2 separate regions of the Homo sapiens genome follow, and region 1 is linked to region 2. Evidence: promoter capture Hi-C in 16 types of primary human blood cells and fetal thymus (Javierre and others, 2016). All regions are on one chromosome and are shown on one strand. The core of a region is centred on a gene start or on the middle of the fragment in contact, and the rest is flanking DNA. Distances in the headings are between cores, read along the strand shown.

Region 1 (5,802 bases), core at 1,436-3,935, 200 kb before region 2:
GAAAAACATTTTTCAGTCAAAAAATTGTTTTACATGCAACATTTGAAAACCCGAGTGAGGTCCAATCCTGACAAAGATTAGCCAACCATGCTTTCCTGGGTGAGGTATACAGCAGGTAGTTGTATAACTAAGAGAGAAACGGTTTTTGGAGAGAGTAGCAGAGACCCCACCTCGATTTGATAAACGTCTGCAGAGGCACACCTGTGGCAGGATGATTTTCCAGGCAGCTCCTCTTTGGCTTCTCCCAATGTGTTGATGAATTTAACAATCCCTGGTAATTCAATTAAACACTAATCTAGGTGCTGTTGTGAAGGGATTTTGCAGATGCAAATGAAGTCCCTAATGGGACTTCATGGGTTGACTTTAAGGGAGATCACTCTTGGTAGACCTGACTTAATCAGTTGGAAGGCCTTAAAAGCCGGGCCTTAAGACTTTCTGAAGGAGAGAAGAAATTTCTCCCATAGAAAACAACTTCAGACTGTGCCTGTGGGATTCCAGCCTGCTTGTCATCTTCTCTTCCTAATGACCTGTCCTATCAATTTGGGCTTTCTTAAACATCCTCCACAATACATAAGCTAGAGTCTTATAATAAATCCCTTGATGAAAGAGTGTGTGTGTGTGTGTGTGTCCTATTGGTTTTGTTTCTCTGGTTGGATCCTGACTGATAGACTCAGGATCTATACCACAAAGGGATTAACAGAAAGCAGAAAGCAAAAGGAAAACTAGGATTAAACTAAGTTCTCATTTCCCAAAGCCAAGACAGCTAATGACTGATGCGTATAAGAAGACAAACTAATGTGTGTGCGCTATGCCAGAGAATTCGATCCATGAACTTCCCGGTGACAACAGCAGACACAGAAAGTAAAGTAACCCTCTGAAACAAAGAAACCTAAACTGTTTAAAAGACAAGAAGCCAAGTCATTTACTTCTAGCCATCCAAGTGGATGGTCCTATCAAAGACAGCCCTCCAGCCCTCTCCCCTAAGTTAGGATTCCAGGCAATAAACAAACAATGGATGGTCTCACATTCCCACCACCACCCACTCCTTTTCTCTTTCGCTTGTTCTTCAGTCTTGCTGCCAGATACTTTAGCCAGAAACCCAAAGTGAGGCAATTAATAGAAAATTCCAGTCATTATGTGACTTACTTAATGGCCCATCCAAATGACTTGTGAGAAAATCTCATGAACCAACAGAACAGAGACTGAAGAGTTTTTTCCATTATTTCTCTCTCTGAGTATTTAAAGACTCGGATTTTCCCATCTTTTGGGGAAATATTTTCTTATAAATAGTGAGGCATGCTGGGCATCTCCACTTCATCTTTTTTGGTGGTCTGTAACACTCACTGTACACTCATTGGAATGTTTCCCTAGTAAGTGATGGGCAATGGAAAACATGGCTAAGACAAAAGATGGCTTTCAGGCTGAGATGATGGGAACCTTCTCATGTTCCCCAAGAGACAGGTAGTTCTTCTATAGAACTAAGGGGTTTATTTTAGAACCAATGAGACTATTTCTGTCTTTCCTTTAGGCCTGCAGCGTTTATAAGAATGATAAACGAGGACTGACCAGACTACTTAGTAGTCCGTTTAGTAGAATTCCAATATATCCAATAATAGTAGGAGTTATTTTTTATTTTTCAAGACACGGTCCCACTATGTTGCCCAGACTGGTCTCGAATTCCTGGACTCAAGTGATCCTTCCACCTCAGCCTCCCAAAGTGCTGGGATTATAGACATGAACCACCATGCCCAGCCAATAGTAGGAGATTTTTTTTTTTTTTTTTTGAGACGGAGTCTCGCTCTGTCGCCCAGGCCGGACTGCAGACTGCAGTGGCGCAATCTCGGCTCACTGCAAGCTCCGCTTCCCGGGTTCACGCCATTCTCCTGCCTCAGCCTCCCGAGTAGCTGGGACTACAGGCGCCCGCCACCGCGCCCGGCTAATTTTTTGTATTTTTAGTAGAGACGGGGTTTCACCTTGTTAGCCAGGATGGTCTCGATCAGTAGGAGATTTTTAAAAGAGATCTATACTTCTGCTGCTAAGCCCAAATGTTAGGGCTTTGGTTTTATGATTTACTCTTCTGTTCCATTATAAGGTTTTAGTTTTTAGACCAATAATTATTTAGAAGCTTTGTTTTACAGTCCAAACTTACTGATTTCAACTAAGCTAATTTCTTGGCTGATTTCTACAACACAAGTAGACAAGATCAGTAATTATACAAAAGTCATACATAAAAATGTGGTCCTGTTGTCACAGTCACTGAACAAAAATTACCTAAGCCCAGACAATGTGCTAAATAACACTGCAGATCAAACCACACCGTACATTTGCTGCAGTCACAGGCGTTTTAAGGAGAGGAATGAGGTCGGTTTTTAAACCTGCTTGAAGGGGAAAGTAATGGTTTTTTTTGTTTTGTTTTGTTTTTAAAACCAAAAAAAAAAAACAAGAAAGACAGACCTTAACCCCTTTTCTCACTCAAGTCTCCTCTTTTTGGGAAGTCCTTCCTGATGACCTCAATTTGGAGCGAGGTAGAATTGCTATTATTTATTATTATACATTTAATAGTAAACATATATTACATAGTTAATAATTATGTGATATAAGGGAAAAGAGCTATCAAGATTATCCCCCTCCCAAAAAATCTCTGGATATTAGAAGGAAAATTAATCATCTAGATAAATTCTTATCCAATGTATTAATTATCTTCTGTAAATTTTGTGCATATGATAAACTTCAAAAAAAAAAATGAAAGGGTGAAAATATTTCAAGGTCTTCCTCATTGTCCTAAAATCCTAGCATTTTACTTTTGCTTCCTGTCCCCAGAAACTTCAAGCACTTCATCTTCATTATAGAGGAGAAAAAAGATGCAAACAACTTTTAAAACCCAGTGTTCTCTATTATAGATTCCTTCATAATTCCTACTCACCATTCCCATGATCTACTTTCCCCCAATAGCTCTTAAAAATGTGTAGAAGGGCTGGGCACGGTGGCTCACGCCTGTAATCCCAGCACTTTGGGAGGCCGAGGCAGGCGGATCACAAGGTTAGGAGTTCGAGACCAGCCTGGCCAACATGGTGAAACCCCCATCTCTACCAACCAAAAATAGGATCCTAGGGTAGAATTTGTGTTTATGGCTTTCCTAACTCATCCTCCTTTAAGTTGTAGAGACGGATGTATTTCAAGAGAGGAAATTTTTTGCAACATTTTCACAATTGTTTGTACATGTTTTTTCTTCACCAGAAGCTTTTTAAAAAAAACCTTAGATTGTCCAGGCGTGGTGGCTCACGCCTATTTGTAATCCCAGCACTTTGGGAGGCCAAGGCAGGCAGATCAGGAGGTCTGGAGATTGAGACTGTCCTGGCTAACACAGTGAAACCCCGTCTCTACTAAAAAATACAATAAAATTAAGTGGGCCTGGTGGTGGGCGCCTGTAGTCCCAACTACTCGGGAGGCTGAGGCAGGAGAATTGCTTGAACCTGGGAGGCGGAGGTTGCAGTGAGCTGAGATCATGCCATTGTACTCCAGCCTGTGTGACAAAGCAAGACTCCATCTCAAAAACATAAAAATAAAAATAAAATAAATTTAAAAAATGTATAGAAGACAAAAATTAGTTTTTCTGTTTTTCTTTTCTTTTTTTTTTTTTGGACAGGGTCTTACTCTGTCACTCAGGCTAGAGTGCAGTGGCATGATCATGGCTCACTACAACCTCCACCTCTTGGGTTCATGTGATTCTCCTGCCTCAGCCTCATAAGTAGCTGGGATTACAGGCATGGGTAGCCACATCTGGCTAATTTTTGTATCTTTTGTAGTGACAGGGTTTCACCATGTTGCCCAGGCTGGTCTCAAACTCTTAAGCTCAAGCAATCCATCCACCTCAGCCTCCCAAAGTGTTGGGATTACAGACGTGAGCCACCACACTCAGCTAAGTTTTTATATTTCTATAAGAAAAAAGTCACCACCTAAACATCCACGATAAAGCCCCGTTAAGTAAATTCTACAATATCCACACTAGAATGCTATGCAGCTAGCGTGGATATAGTAGGATTCTATCAGCAATAGAATGCTATGCAGCTATTTAAAAAAAAAAAAAAAAAAAAAGAGCTACATCAATTGTTATGAAAGGCTACTCTAAAAAAAAGTCATGTAGAATATTATAGTATGTTCCCATTTGTATTCATTGTAATTAATTGCATTAATCATAATTATATATAGAAAACTCTAGAAACAAATGTTAACAGTGGCATTCTGGATGAAATTTGCAGTACTGTTAAAAATTTGCATTCTACAGGGTAATTCTTTTTTTCTTTTTGAGATGGAGTCTCACTCTGTCCCCCAGGTTGGAGTGCGGTGGGGTGATCTCGGCTCGCTGCAACCTCCATCTCCCAGGTTCAAGCGATTCTCCTGCCTCAGCCTCCTGAGTAGCTGGAATTACAGATGTGCACCATCACGCCCAGCTGTTTTTTGTCTTTTTTAGTAGAGATGGGGTTTCACCATGTTGGCCAGGCTGGTCTTGAACTCCTGACCTCAGGTGATCCACCTGCCTCGGCCTCCCAAAGTGCTGGGATTACAGGCATGAGTCACCGTACCCGGCCCCTAATGTATATATTTCTAACAAGAGAAAATGTGTATTTCAACCAGGGATCAAGGGGAATAGGGTCCTCTGACAGTGTTGGACACCTCTAAAAAGCCACTTCCAACCCCCTAGGCCCCAGTGCTCACTCCCTCCACTGCCGCAGTGACTAGTTCACGCAGGCTTGCAGTGGCTTCATGCTCGTGCATCAGTGCAGGCAGACACTGCCTCATTGCTAATGCTCAATATTTCACTTCCTGCCTTAGGATTTCTCTTGAAACTTATTCTGCAGTTATGCATATGCAAACAAGAGGGAGAAATCAACGGGATAAATCCCCTCACGCCCCCCCCGCATTTTGTACTTAAGCAGACAGTTCTGAGAGCATTCCATTCCATAGGTTCCTAAAAAGGTTCTAGTGGAATTGAACACCTGCTGCCTAGGCGCTATCAGATCCTTAAATTTTCTTTCCCTCCTTCTCATTTCACTTTCCTTGTCCTGAACTCCTGCTTCCTGGGACTGCACTCCATATAAACTTCCCTGCATGCAAGTCTTTCTACCAGGCTGATGTTCAGGCTAAGACATCGGGTGAGTGGAAAGTTTTTCCACCAGCCACTTTTTGGTTTCACACATTTCATGCTCTTCTACTTGCAGATTCCAGTGCCAGATGTGTTAGAACACACTCCTGTCTCAATACAATGCAGGGCTTGTACCTTTGAGTGACATCCACATTGTTGGATATCATTTATGCAGTGAGATGGCCACCAATAACTATACATCAAAGTGACTGCAACCACAGAGATATATCCCAGTAAACTCAAACAAAGTGTATATCCACAGCTTAACTTTCCCACAGCTGAATCCCAAAAATGCTTGGGACCACTCCAACATTGCCACACACAAGAGTAAGAGAGGGTAACTCAATGTGGAAAGAGTAATTTTGGCCCACAGTAAACTTTCCGATTTTTCAAAATTTACAAATACACATAAACATGTAAAACTTGCTAGGGGTCTTCCCAGGGCCTTGGAAGCAGCCCACACATCTGAGCACTTAAGCTTTAGCTTCATTAGCTTTGTGGTAATATGCTTTTCACGATGCACTAATTGAGTAACTACAACAAAGGGAGCATAAAGCACAGACTGAAAACCCTAAAATCTACATACTCCACCATCCCAGTCTCATCTAAACCTCAGATATAAAAATATTCCATCTGTCCATCTGGTCCTCCTCCTCCTC
Region 2 (5,800 bases), core at 2,928-5,427:
CACTAGAAGACTTAAACTTCATGTGAATACTGACAATAAAAACCACAGGGAAGAGACGTCCACGTCAGAGACCACCCTCATACCTGGTGAGATCTGTGCCAACTCCTCAGAAACTGGCACGCCAAATCAAAATGGGTCTGGTTCAATCCTCCCTAATGGCAACAGAAACCCCTCTAACTAATCCCACTTCTCCTAATTCCCTTTCTTTTTCTCCTTACGAACCTAAAAATCTCACCATTTCTATTAGCCTGAAAATAACATCCCCTTATTCTTCTATTCCTCCTTCAGCACTGGATCTTGCTTACAATAGGTTTTATTTAATAATTCTCTTCCTTATACTTTCTGTCTCACCAGTTTCCCCTCACATTGATTTACCTGCTACACAAAATTATTCTTGCTGGGCTTATGTGCCTTTTCCTCCACTTATTCAACCTCTCACCTGGATGGATGCTCCTGCGGAAATCTATACTAATGATAGTGTGTGGATGCCTGGAGCTACAGATGACCGTTGCCCCACTCAACCAGGAAAAGAAGGCACTGCATTTAATGTTCCTACGGTTATAAATACCCTCCTCTGTGCCTCGGACATGCACCTTGTTGTATCCATCTAGAAACTCAAGTCTGGGCTGCGTACCTTCTGGAGAGATCAGCCACAGGGGAACGGGGACATTTGGTCTCCAGCCTCTCCCTTTCTCCTTTAAGACAAATGAAAGGGGGAGTAATAGGAGATACCCCCTACTTTCAATATAAACCTGTAGGAAAACCATGTCCTAAAATTTTTGAGGGCCCATCTAAATCTTTAATTTGGGAAGATTGTGTTAATTCACATGCAGTACTATTAAAAAATGACTCATATGGTTTAGTAAGAGACTGGGCACCAAAGGGCTATTTGAAAAGCAGTTGCTCTTCTGCTGGAAGGGAATGCCTGGAGGCTACTTGTTTTATTTCTTATTGGGAGGACGAGGATCATCATCCTACTTTGCATAGGAGGTTCAGCTCATTCTGTCCCTTAAAATGGGAAGATAAGAGCATTACCCCCTGCCACCCGAGGCCTCTTATGATATCCCCCATTCTGAGCCCAGAACACCCAGAACTTTGGAAATTGGCTATTGCCATGTCCAGACTGCGAGTATGGGAAGGGGAAACTTTTCTTTCTGTTGTCCCCACTACCACCCCTCACATCCGTGATTCTGAAACCCATGATAAATCCCCTTTGGACCATTTTCCTCTTTTTGATGCCAGTCCTCCTTTATGGGACTCTGATTGGCATTATGATAATTCTTCTGGACCCAGGTATGTCCCCCTACCTCTTCAGAATCCCCGGGCACCTCGGATTGCTTCTTTACGGCATCAAACATTGGGCGTTGCCACCGCCACTCCTCCCCCTCGGTATCAACGTAGATTCAAACATTCTGCTTTGTTTACCTCCAGCCTGACTATTATACAGAGTTGTGTTAAGCCTCCTTACATGCTGTTAGTGGGAAATATCAAAATTTGGATGAACAATCAAACCGTCCAATGCATTAATTGTCATTTATCCACTTGTGTTAACTCCCGTTTTGACTCAGGAAAAGTGTAATGTTGGTTCGAGCTTGAGAAGGAATCTGGATACCAGTAACTTTACCCAGAACTTGGGAATCTTCCCCCTCAGTACATTTAATTAATGAAGTGTTACAACGAATTCTCAAAAGATCAAGAGATTTGTTTTCACTTTAATCACTGTGATCATGGGCCTAATTACAGTCACTGCACTGGCCACCACTGCCGGAGTGGCATTACACCAATCTATTCAAATGGCTAATTTTGTTAATGATTGGTAAGGCAATTCCACCCAAATGTGGAATCCTCAACAAGGCATTGATCAAAAATTAGCTAATGATTTAAGACAGTCTGTTATTTGGCTTGGGGACCAGCTAATGAGTCTCGAACATCACATGCAAATGCAGTTCGATTGCAACACTTCTGATTTCTATAGCACACCATATTCCTACAACGAGACTGATCATGGGAAATGGTCAAAGGACACCTTCTGGGTAGGGAAGATAATTTATCCTTGGACATAACTAAATTAAAGAAACAAATTTTTGAAGCCTCTCAAGCTCATTTATCCATTGTGCCTGGAGCTGAGGCGTTAGATCAGGTGGCAGAAAGTCTTTCTGGACTAAACTCCACAACTTGGATTAAGTCTACTGGGGGCTCCACTGTAGGAAATTTTGGAATCATGTTTCTCTGTTTAATCGGCTTGTTTTTAGTGTGCCAGACCAGTCAAAGAATCCTGCATCAAAACCGAGAGAACGAGCAAGCCTTCATCGCCACGGCACATTTATATAAAAAGAAAGGGAGAGATGTTGCGGGAAGTCAGGGACCCTGAATGGAGGGACTGGCTGGAGCCATGGCAGAGGAACATAAATTGTGAAGATTTCATTTTAATATGGACATTTATCAGTTCCCAAATAATACTTTTATAATTTCTTATGCCTGTCTTTACTTTAATCTCTTAATCCTGTTATCTTTGTAAGCTGAGGATGTTTGTCACTTCAGGACCACTGTGATAATTGTGTTAACTGTACAAATTGATTGTAAGACATGTGTTTGAACAATATGAAATTAGTGCACCTTGAAAAAGAACAGAATAAGAGCAATTTTTAGGGAACAAGGGAAAACAACCATAAGGTCTGACTGCCTGCAGGGTCGGGCAGAAAGAGCCATATTTTCCTTCTTGAGAGAGGCTATAAATGGACATGCAAGTAGGGAAGATATCACTAAATTCTTTTCCTAGCAAGGAGTATTATTATTAATACCCTGGGAAAGGAATGCATTCCTGGGGGGAGGTCTATAAACAGCCGCTCTGGGAATGTCTATCTTGTGCAGTTGAGATAAGGACTGAGATACGCCCTGGTCTCCTGCAGTACCCTCAGGCTTACTAGGGTGGGGAAAAACTCCGCCCTGGTAAATTTGTGGTCAGACCGGTTCTCTGCTGTCGAACCCTGTTTGCTGTTGTTTAAGGTGTTTATCAAGACAGTATGTGCACCGCTGAACATAGACCCTCATCTGTAGTTCTGCTTTTGCCCTTTGCCTTGTGATCTTTGTTGGACCCTTATCAGTGGTTCTGCTTTTGCCCTTTGCCTTGTGATCTTTGTTGGACCCTTATCGGTAGTTCTGCTTTTGCCCTTTGTCCTTTCCCTCAGAAGCATGTGATCTTTGTTAGACACTTATTAGTAGTTCTGCTTTTCGCCCTTTGAAGCATGTGATCTTTGTACCTACTCCCTGTTCTTACACCCCCTCCCCTTTTTGAAACCCTTAATAAAAACTTGCTGGTTTGAGGCTCAGGTGGGTATCACAGTCCTACCGATATGTGATGCCACCCCCGGCGGCCCAGCTGTAAAATTCCTCTCTTTATACTGTCTCTCTTTATTTCTCAGCCGGCTGACACTTATAGAAAGAACCTACGTTGAAATATTGGGGGTGGGTTCCCCCAGTACGCTAGTCCTGCTGATGAGCAAAGAAGGTGTTGATGGCATTTTGATCAACAAGAAATGTTATGAAACGGCCTCCCACCTCTGGCATTCCTAGTACTGACCTATCTCTCCCTTCCCTTCCACCGCTCCCCACAGCTTAGCACCCCTTTCGTTCCCATACACATGTACATTTTTATTTTGGGGACCATTAACCCACAGCCCTTATCGCTGCCAAAACCACATGGGCTGGAGGGCCAGGGCTGCATGGACAGTCACACCACTGCACACCAGCCTGGTGATGGAGCAAGACTCTGAAAAAAAAAAAAAGAAGCATAAAAGACCTTTAACAGTCCCTGCTACTTGTGACCCTCCTGAATCTGTCATCTGTCCAGTGATTTTGATTTTGCAACATGGAAAGTTCCAAGCCTTGACTCCTGAGCCCAGATACCATTCGCACTCTGGAGTCATTCAAGCATGGGGAGCTCCTCAGAGGGTGATCAACTGACCTCCCTTACCTAGCTCCTCCTCCGGAGGTTTGCCCTGGAGTTGAGCCAGCCCTTGAGGAGGCCTTCACTCCCACCGCCTCTCTCCCTTCTGGATATGAGCTCAGGCCTGGCTGGGCTCCAGGAGAATCTTTCCACAAGGCAAGAGATAACACAAAGTCAAGGTGAAGATCAGGGTAGCCCTTTAAAAGGCCTCCTTGTGCCCTAGAGTTGCCACAGCTCTTCTACTCCACTGCTGTCTATCTTGCCTGCCGGCACCCAGCCACCATGTGGGAGCTCGTGGCTCTCTTGCTGCTTACCCTAGCTTATTTGTTTTGGCCCAAGAGAAGGTGCCCTGGTGCCAAGTACCCCAAGAGCCTCCTGTCCCTGCCCCTGGTGGGCAGCCTGCCATTCCTCCCCAGACACGGCCATATGCATAACAACTTCTTCAAGCTGCAGAAAAAATATGGCCCCATCTATTCGGTTCGTATGGGCACCAAGACTACAGTGATTGTCGGCCACCACCAGCTGGCCAAGGAGGTGCTTATTAAGAAGGGCAAGGACTTCTCTGGGCGGCCTCAAATGGTAAGTGGTGCCCATCTCCTCCCTGCCCCCTTCACCACCCCCTGGGATTGTTCAGGTCTTCAGACCATGCCTAGAATGGGGCTTCCAGCTCCAACAACCTGTAATTCTTCCCAAAGTAGACTAGTGGGATGATGTGAAGGGAGTGAACCTTCAGACCCCCACCCAGCCTCTAAATTAGGCAGGAAGAATTAAAGGAATGTCTCCTCTACCAGGCTGCCCAGGAGGTGGGATGGGAGGACCACAGTGGTCTGAGGGGTCAAGGAATCCTCACTCCACTCCTCTCTCTGAGCCTAGACTTCTCTAATGGACTGAGAAGGTGCATGTACAGCACTTAGCCTAGCACCCAGCACAGTAAGTGCCCCTTATACAGCCAGGATTCATGTTACTTTTCATGGAAAATGGGGGCAGTGACTACTGTCCTCCATGAAAGCTGCTGGGGAGAATTAGCCTAGCTATTGCAGGCTGGGATTGCTGCTTTCCTGGTGCTATTTCCAGCTACTCAGGCTCACAGGGGCAGTTTTCTACAATGACATTTCAGGGTTGCTGATGAGCCTCCCACTCAGCAGGGCCCCCAGCCTCTCAGCATTTTTTTTTTTTTTTTTTTTTTTTGAGACAGAGTCTCTCTCTGTCGCCCAGCCTGGAGTGCAGTGGCCAATCTCAGCTCACTGCAACCTCTGCCTCCCGGGTTCAAGTGATTCTCCTGCCTCAGCCTCCTGAGTACCTGGGACTACAGGAGCATGCCACCATGCCCGCTAATTTTTTGTATTTTTAGTAGAGATGGTGTTTCACCATGTTAGCCAGGATGGTCTCGATCTCCTGACCTCGTGATCCTCCCACCTTAGCCTCCCAAAGTGCTAGGATTATAGGCGTAAGCCACTGTGCCCTGCCAGCCTCTCAGCTTTGATCAAGCCAAGGGTTGGTTTATTTTTTCTTGGACCAATCAGCCAGGTCTGCTGACCAACTACCTAGCTCCCACCTCTGCTGGCTTCCTCCCGGGGGCAGAGAAGATGGAGAAGGCTAGTCATGTGGATCTTCAGGGTCAGGAAATGGAAAAGGGAGGCTTTGGACCCTTTTGCTTTGGGGGGCACCTCTAGGAGGAGGCGGCTCGGCCCAAGTCCAGACTGGGTAGACAAAACATCTGCACTCTCCAAATGTGGGCTTGTGGCTGGGTATGCAGGCTTGCAATGGAAGGGTAAACCTGAGTGAGGTGAGCTGTGCCTTTAGCTCAGCTAAGGGCTCAGGGAAAAGCAGAGATCTGTGCAGTCCTCAGCCTCT

What was found. Contacts are between HindIII fragments. The CHiCAGO score rates a contact against its expected background, and 5 or more counts as called.
Region 1: a fragment that was not itself captured here is called in contact with the fragment with the promoter of CYP17A1 in region 2 in 1 of 17 cell types (erythroblasts); the score reaches 5.9 in erythroblasts.

The regions. Positions count from the first base shown.
Region 1 is chr10:103,030,955-103,036,756 of GRCh38, reverse strand. The region is part of intron 1 of CNNM2 (cyclin and CBS domain divalent metal cation transport mediator 2); the gene reads right to left. Among named protein-coding and RNA genes, the nearest start is that of CNNM2, 120 kb to the right of the region's middle. The HindIII fragment of the contact is 1,115 bases long and covers 2,128-3,242 here.
Region 2 is chr10:102,835,790-102,841,589 of GRCh38, reverse strand. CYP17A1 (cytochrome P450 family 17 subfamily A member 1) reads left to right here and starts at 4,177. Exons shown (of 8, transcript NM_000102.4): 1 at 4,177-4,525. The coding sequence starts at 4,229. RefSeq lists a promoter at 3,938-4,217. The HindIII fragment of the contact is 11,808 bases long and covers 1-5,800 here.